Regions from separate parts of the Homo sapiens genome. Here regions 2 and 3 are each linked to region 1. Evidence: promoter capture Hi-C in 16 types of primary human blood cells and fetal thymus (Javierre and others, 2016). All regions are on one chromosome and are shown on one strand. Each heading gives the region's core, a stretch centred on a gene start or on the middle of the fragment in contact. The rest is flanking DNA. Distances are from core to core; before and after follow the strand shown.

Region 1 (2,802 bases), core at 8-2,507:
GTGTGGAAACTTTGCCTACACATTATCAGAATGCTTATCTCAAGTATGACACCCTTGCTTTTACATGCAGGGAAGAGAAATGCCTTAGAGAGTAGTTTTGGTATCTCTCTGAATGGCAGAATAATAACAGATAAAACTAGCTGTCCTTTAGTAAATGCCTACTGCTTGGACCCTTTGAATATAATAGTTCATTAGTCTTCACAAAACCGCCAACGGGTAGGCATTAGTTTTATTCAGGTAGCACCCACGTTTTTATAAAAACATGAGGCTTGCAAGTAAACTATCCTGAAGACACAGAAACCTTTTAGCAAAGCAAATATGTATATTGGTGATATATATAGTATTGATATTTATATTTGTCACCAAAGATGGTCCTGAATTAAAAAAAAAAAGGAACGCTAATGTGCAACAGCTATGTTCACGAATGTTTACAATTGAACGCTTGCCCAATAATTTTATATAAAGTCACAGAGCTGCTCTGGAAATCAGCACCATCGTATGATGTTGAATTGTGATCACGAGTGAGCTAGACCTGGGTTTGCATCCCAGTTCTGCGTGATTTGGGGCAAGTTGCTTAACTTCGCTGTGCTGCAGTTTCTTTTACTTTAAGAAGGGCCCGCCACATAGGGGTGTGGGTAAAGCACATAAATGCTTTAACACATGTCAAATGTTTAGAGCAGGCCTAACCGCAGAAAACGCTCACAGCGCGTTAGCTGGCACCTCTAAGGTCCATCCAGCTCTGGCAGTTATCCTGCCTAACTTCAAGTTGTGTTTAACATTTCGGTAAAGACCGCCTGCAGTTCTGAGACTGCACGTGGCTGTCCAGGTGCTGCAAATTCTCGACACAGACTCCAGGAGGCGAGTATCTCCAGGACGGCCGGGGCTGCGGAAGCCCTGGAGCAGCTTCTATACTTTAGAGCTTTCATGGCACAAATGCCATGAAAGCTTGTTAAAAACGACCCGCGTACCCCCCTTAGGTGGCAGGTCTCAGGTGTGGCCCAAGTTTCAAGGTGAACAAGCTCGGTGAGTCTCCTGTGCCTGGGCGGAAGCCCGCCTTGGCGGGTTAACCGTTAACTAACGCTGAACCAAAACCCAAGAGGGCCTCAGGCCCCGCAGCGGCGCGGCCACAGCCGGAATGAGGAGTCCACGCCCGCAGCCCAGCCGGAAGCAGCTGGTCCCGCCAGCCCGCCCCCTGCGCGGCGAGAACAGAACTTACTGTCCCCGAGTCCTCGCTCCGCCTCCGCGTGACGCTACTGCACGAGCCAGAGCTCCAGACGTGCGCGGCGCCTCGACGGGGGCGGGGCGAGGCCGTCCACGTGACCCAAGAAGGCCCGCCCCCGGGACCGCCTCTATGGCATTGCCGGCAGATGACCCTGGTTGATAGAGATCTCTGGCCAACAGCGCCGCGCCAGCACCTTCAAACTGGCAGGCATACTCGTGTACTTGACAAATGTGGATAGCATCAGTTTACTTTTTAGTTGTTTGTTGATCTCATTACATTTATTCAAATTTTAGATGCGCCCAGCGACTTCATTCAGTTATTTACCCTATAAAAATATTTGCAGAAGGTCGTCGCGATGCTGGTAACCCATGTATAAGGATGTTAAGGCCGGGCGCGGTGGTTCACGCCTGTAATCCCAGTACTTTGGGAGGCCGAGGCGGGCGAATCACCTGAGGTCGGGAGTTTGAGACCAGCCTGACCAACATGGAGAAACCCCATCTCTACTAAAAATACAAAATTAGCCGGGCGTGGTGGCCCAGGCCTGTAATCGCAGGTACTCAGGAGGCTGAGGCAGGAGAATCGCTTTGAATCCAGGAGGCAGAGGTTGCGGTGAGCCGAGATCGCGCCGTTGCACTCCAGCCTGGACAACACGAGCGAAACTCCATCTCAAAAAAAAAAAAAATGTTTATTGCTGTGAAGTAGTGAAAATAGCTGAAGTGATAACACGGAGGAATGGTTCAATAAAACACAGCACAACAGTACAGACATGTGAATTACTTCGTAGCTGTGTACTGTATACTCAAAGGACAGGCCCATCATGTAATGAATATTAAAGGCAAAGCGTAGAATACTATATATGGTGTCCTCTCTTTAATGTAAACAATTATTTTTTGAAATACAAACATGCAGGTATGTACATAAACTTTTTCTCGAAAAATCAAAAGAAACAATAGTGGTTGCTTTGGGAGGAGATGGAGAGTTTTCACTTTCATATTATGAACTTTGCAATTTTGCTTTTTTCTCATTGTACTTCCCTGAATTGACAACAACAACAACAAAGAAAACCACCAAAACCCTCATATTTGTGTTCCGAGCTGGGAAACTAGATGAGCCTAAGTTTTTAATTTCCTTGACTACTTTCCAGTGCAGTGATTCTTAACCCTGGCTATGCCTTAGAGTCGCTTGGGAGTTTTGAAAAGTCGTAATGCCCAGTCTGTATGCCAGACCAACAAAATAAAACACAGATTATTTGGGGTGGGAAGGGAGTGGGCAGATTCAATGTATGTTTTTAACTTCCTGAGTGATTCCAGTGTGAACCCAAGGTTGAACACTACAACTTGTATTTAGTATGGTGACATAGTGATCTCAGGCTCTAGGGTGGCCCAATGAACTGGGGCAGCCGAAACCCAGGAACTTTGTCCATTTACCTCAGTGTGCTATATAAATGCCATTTTTTAAATGAGCCTCAACATGTAAGAAGTTGAATAGCTCAGAATAATTTGTTTCCAGTGCTAGTTTCTTCTGTTTTTTTTCTCTTCAATACAGTTTTATGGTGATCAATAATATTTTATTGGGTCATT
Region 2 (2,828 bases), core at 98-2,597, 690 kb before region 1:
AAGTTAATTTCTAAATGGAAAATAGTCATAGTATATACTGCGTAGAGCTTGGAGCAAATCTTACAGCTTACTGTTTTGGAAGATGTGAAAGTTTCTTGTAAAGTCAAGTAAATGATAATCAAAGTGGGAAGCAACATCCTCCTTTGAAGGGTGATGCTTCAGTGTGAAGAGGTTATAAACTGGGGTAAACAACAACAGCTCTTAGGCAACAAAGGAGGATTTACCTCGATTCTTCTCTGTTGGCCATTGCTCCTACCGGGACCTGGCAGTCAACGGAGTGAACAAACACATCACGAATATTACTGGATTTCAGAGTCTATTAGGAGCCAACAAGCTGATTCAATCCTTACTAAAAACCCACAGTTCCAAAGATTCAAAGCCAAGATCACTGAATTACTAACTCATTAAAAACGGAAATAAAAATTGAATCAGCCAAAGCAACTCAGAACAAAGATGAAAAACAAGTTAACCATGGTGGGGAGGGTAGGGGGAGAGTGGGGGTTGAGGGCAGAAGGGGCGAGCTGCTTTCAGCATCAAGTTCTTTCTACAAAAGGACCTGAGCTGAAATGAAACAGTTTGCCAGAGGCTTCTAGAGATAAAGGTGGACTCCCGCAGAAAATGTTCCAGATCCTGGGAAGACAACAGCGCAAATTAGATAAGAGTGTATCCTTGTTTAATAGTTGGCATTAGATGCTGCAAAATATAACCTTGAGGTAAATAGCAAAGACATGGCTTTCCTTCTTTCTCTTAATACTGACTGCTTAAAAAATTTTGCCCAGTCATTGTTTCCTGTCCGATTACCATAAAGTCTTTCTGTGATGCTTTCCTCATTGAAAGGCCATGAGTTCAGGCAAGACTTTTAAGTGTCTAGGGGTTGAAGATAGGATCCTAACCCACAGAGCTCAAGGCACTTTGTCTCTTTCCACCTATAGCCTGTCTACCTGTCTCTCTCAGGAACCTAGGAGGGATTCTCAGAGGGCCACCCTGGGGAGATAGCCACACTCAGTTTACTAGGTTTACTGTGTTCTCTGCAGCTTTGGGCTCAGAGGGTCAACTACTCGCTCTACCTGCAAATCAAACACAGAAGAGTTCCTGTCCTCAGCAGGACTCACCTTAGCTCTCCTCCAAGGACAAGTGTATCCATAACTGGTATGGATACACTTGCATTTAACAAGGATATTTGTATTATTTGGCTACATGCCTATGACTTCAAGTTTTATGTTAGGTGTCCTTGTCACTTAAACTCTGGGGCTTTGTCCAGATATAACTGTGTTCTTCCAATGAAACAAATTTAGATCTCTTTGCACTTTTGGGTTTTCCCCCAGCTCACTGTGTGATTTTAGCTTAATCACTTAATTCTCCCACTCTTCCATTTCCCATCTATCATGTGCAATGTTATGACCAATAATTAGTGAATGGCAATAACTTGAACTTACAAAAGGCCTTCCTTCCAGGAAACTCACAATACTTCATGAGGGCTAGTTGGTATCCTTCACAAAACCCCAGTGAGAAACGTTTTGCTTTTTATACTGTTTTTCTACTTGGTTCTATTTTTATAGATGCACCAAGAAGATTAAATAAGTTTCTTGGGGTCGTATGTTATCTTGGTGTCACATATTTTCTTGGTAGCATGTTATCAAAAGCCTTTGATGGTGCTCTTCTGGCAATGCTGTTCAAATCAAGTTGCACAGCTAAAGTACTTAGTGTTGGTAACTGGCAACAATCAAAAACTATAATAATCACCCGTAAAGCTGGAGACCTGGCCCCTCATTATGTTAGCACATATTAGGAAATATGTTTTGCTACTTTTTTCTTCCAGTAATGGTTATTATTTCCCAGTCAAATCCAAGTTCTGTTGCTGTTACTGAAATGGAGCAGAGTGCCCATGAGCCAATGCCTGGCAGTGCACTCCAAGCAGCCTCCACTGTCACAACACAAAAAACCAAACCATCTACAGAGCCAGAATGGCACACAGAGGAAGACAGAAACATGAGAAGTAGCCTTGCCAAAGTCCAAAGGTCTGAGCAAGAACACCAGGAGCCAAGTCTCTAGAGCACAAACAACCAGGCAGAAGGGCTCCCAGGAACAGGATGTTCTGCGGCATTTCCAAAAACCCCTGGCCTCTGGGCACGGCATCCAGAGCTCACCAAGCACCCTCTTCCCAGGGGTTCGCTTCCAGAAAGAGAAATATAATATACTTTGGAATGAGCAGCAAGCTATCCACCAAATCACATTTCTACTTATTGAAAAGTGAATCTCTTTAGACTAAATCTCAGAGCAAAGTTGTTTGGGGGGAGAAGTGATGTGATCAACTTTTCCCACTCCAGACTCAGAGTTCAATACTTTCTATTATCTAAATATACCTGTTTAGGCCTTGTGAGTTACCTATATTGTAACCACTACCTACAGAAATTTACAAGTTCTAATAATACCATAAACAAGGATTACAAAGGAAGAAGGAAGGAAAGAATAGGATAATAAATGAAGCAAAGTATGAAGAAAGCAGAAGTAAAACAGCATAAGGCAGCATATAGCATTAAGTCATAAGTCAAAAAACGATGCAGAGTTTTTGAAACTCTCAAGAATATTTGAAACTGAAATTTGAAGTGCATAAATGCATTTGAAATATGAAAGCAGAATAAAAATAGGTTTGTTGTTTTGTTTGTTGAACGTTTCAACCTAACAGAAGATGATGACAGAACTTCTTAATGATTATGGTCTAACAATTGTTGTGTCATAACTTTCAGGAATAAAAACATGGACACTGTTAGTAAAGTCAAGTCTATTTACTCCTTTCATTTCTCATTCCAAAGCTTTCATCCTAGCTG
Region 3 (2,981 bases), core at 369-2,868, 970 kb before region 1:
CCCTCTTAGGCTCCCTGGCCTCCTTCCCTGGGGCCTGGCGTGGTGGAGCAGGTTGAATTCTCCCTCAATGTGCGTCTCAGCCAAGGACAGCCCACAGAATCCTTGTCTGTTTCATTCTCCCTGTTGCCATTGGCACATTAGCAAAGCAATCTGATAGACTGGACTATGTGAACACACTCTGGGAGACAGCCCTGTGCAGCAGCACAGACAGTGCTGACTGAGTCAATGGGAGAGATGGTTATGGCAGAGTAAGGGGAGAGGAGGAAGTGAGACCTGCCTAGGGACTGCCAAATGCCATCCTGTACAGCTGCTCTTTGGCTTACGATGGGATAAACTTACTGGAAATAGAAAATATTGTAAGTCAAAAATGCACTTAATACACCAAAGCTGCTGAACATCATAGTTTAGCCTAGCTTACCTTAAATATGCTCCAACAATTACAATAGCCTGTGGTTGGGCAAATCATCTAACACAAAGCCTGTTTTATAATAAAGTGCTGAATATCTCATGTAATGTATTGAATATTGTACTGAAATTGAAAAACAGAATTGAATTGCTGTATGGGTACTCCAAGTACAGCTTCTACTGAATGCATATGATTTCTGCACCATCGTAAAGTTCAAAAATCTTAAGTTGAACTATTGAAATTTGGGGGCTGCCTATACTAGGCTAAAGCCTACTCACAGCTCACTCAAGGCAGCGCTGAGGGCCTCCCCAGTGCCCAAATTATTGCTTTTAAGTAACTAAAAGGCAAGAGAATATAATGAACTCATTAGCCTTCTTAGTGACAGGTGCCTCATTTTACCAAGCTTAGGGTGGGAGCAGTACAAGATGATGGATCCTTTTCATAATTCAACTATATATATATATTCAGTTTTTAAAAAGAAAAAAAGCACTGAGGAAGAGGGGTAATCTGGCACCCCTGGGGAGAGGCTGGGCCTAGGCTTTGGATGGAGGTGGGTCCCTGGCATTATTCTTGGATTTCCTCTGAATCTTTGGACTCTGTTTCAGGTTTATCTGCCTGAATAGCTTCCCGTTCCCCACAGTGAATGAATCATTTCCTCTTCTAATCCCCTGCCAAACATTTCAAATCATGTTTCCTTTTCTTGGTTAAGTACCTAAATTGAACTCACTGTGATGAAAAAGCAACCCATGGAAAACAGTTTTCATTCTCATTTATAAGCCTCCTGCCATAAGGTTTTTGGGAGAAGCTCGTGGGCATGTCCCGGCTGGATGCTTTTGCTGAAAATCCCTTGTCAACACTGAGGCGCTGTAGTAGGTAAGATTGCACACAGCATCAGGAGTGAAAGGCCCTGATTCTGATTCACTTCACCGCAATAACCTAACGAGTCAGGCATTTGCCAACAGCTAACACTCCATCCAGAGGGAAATGGAATCATTTGAGACAAAATGATGAGCTTCTGCTGCCATCTGGTGGAGTTCTCACCTTTAATCATGTTAATTAAAGGGTTCCTCACCAGAAAATGCTGTAGAGTTAGTGGTGGTTCTGGAAGGGGTTCCTTGGACCGGCAGCATTTGTATTACCTGGTCACTTACTGCTGATGATATATTGTTAGTTACTTTATACCTTAGATTCCTTCATTACAAAATAGACATAAAACATCTAACTCATAGGGCTGTGAGGATACCCAGCCTCACAATGCAGATAAATGAACAACAATTTAAAAAACAGTATAAGGCACCCAGTATTAAATCTAACAAAAGATGTGCAATTATTTTAAAAAGTATAAAATTTCATTGAAAGACATTTGGGAATACCTAAATATTTGCAGGCTCCACCCCAGACCTACAGGATTAAGATGTACATTGTAATAGAAGTCCCAGGTTATTTGTATAGAGAATAAAGTTTGAGGTACTTAACGTTTTCTCCAGGGAGATAGGTAGTTACTATTGTTGTTGTTGTTTTGTGCCTTTGAATACCCTTAAGTTGTTTCATTTAAAAATGCTTTAAAGACAATCATCAGAAGACAGAGTATGGATTGGAGGTTAAGAACACAGAATTTGGGGTCAGATAGAACTTGTTTTGCATCCCGTCCCCATCACTGACTACTGATAACATGGTGAGTTACTTAATCTTTCTGGACCTTAGTTTCCTTAGCTAGAAAATGAACGTGAAAATATCTAACTCATAGGGTTGTGAAGACTTAAACAGAAAATACAGATAGCACAAATAGTAGTATTACAAAATCTGAAGTACCTAGTATTAAATCTAACAAAGGATGTGCAAATATGAAAAAAGTATGAAATTTCATTGAAAGACCTTCGAGAATACTTAAATGAAAGGAGAGATGAAACCATGTTCAAGGATAAGAAGAAAACTGTCATTCATCTTCAAATCCATCTATTCTAATGCAATTCAAATTATAACCTCAACTGGATTTTTATTGCTGAACTTGACAAGCTTATTTCAAAATTTGAATGGAAGAAAACAGCTAGGAATAGAAAATTCTGAAAGAGAAGAAGATGGAGAGGGTCACTCTACCAGATATCAAGACTTATTATAAAACTATAGTAGTTCAGGCAGTGTGCTATTGGCACAGTGATGGATGACTTGCCAGTGGAACAGAATAGAGAGTTCAGAAAGAGACTCATACATATTTGGAAATTGGATACATGAAGCAGTGGCATTACAAATCAATAGAACATGCATGGGCTAACTGATAAACATTAATTGGTTACCCACAGAGAAAAATTACATGTACTGTGTATTTACACATGTATATATGTGTGTATGTATGTATATATGTGTGTATATTTATTTAGACTTCTTGTTTATATCATACACAAAGATAAATTGTTACCCCGTTGATAAGAGATCTAAACATCTAAAGCAAAACTAAAATAAGTTTGAGGAAAATGCAGAAGAATTTTTGCATAATCTCAGTGTAAGAAAGAGCATATTAACAAAATCCAGTAAACCAAAATTATAAAGTAAAAGATTTGATATATTTGATTAGATT

What was found. Contacts are between HindIII fragments. The CHiCAGO score rates a contact against its expected background, and 5 or more counts as called.
Region 2: a fragment that was not itself captured here is called in contact with the fragment with the promoter of RFESD in region 1 in 4 of 17 cell types (erythroblasts, endothelial precursors, megakaryocytes and 1 more); the score reaches 7.7 in erythroblasts.
Region 3: a contact is called between a fragment that was not itself captured here and the fragment with the promoter of RFESD in region 1, in 1 of 17 cell types (M0 macrophages). The highest score is 5.4, in M0 macrophages.

The regions. Positions count from the first base shown.
Region 1 is chr5:95,645,232-95,648,033 of GRCh38, reverse strand. RFESD (Rieske Fe-S domain containing) reads right to left here and starts at 1,257. Exons shown (of 6, transcript NM_001131066.2): 1 at 1,217-1,257. The HindIII fragment of the contact is 4,150 bases long and covers 948-2,802 here.
Region 2 is chr5:96,338,024-96,340,851 of GRCh38, reverse strand. The region is part of intron 3 of LOC101929710 (a long non-coding RNA gene); the gene reads right to left. All of the region lies in intron 1 of LOC107986365 (a long non-coding RNA gene), which reads right to left. It also overlaps a transcript of CAST not described here. Among named protein-coding and RNA genes, the nearest start is that of PCSK1, 94 kb to the left of the region's middle. The HindIII fragment of the contact is 2,936 bases long and covers 1-2,815 here.
Region 3 is chr5:96,612,648-96,615,628 of GRCh38, reverse strand. All of the region lies in intron 4 of LOC101929710 (a long non-coding RNA gene), which reads right to left. It also overlaps a transcript of CAST not described here. Among named protein-coding and RNA genes, the nearest start is that of CAST, 48 kb to the left of the region's middle. The HindIII fragment of the contact is 1,613 bases long and covers 812-2,424 here.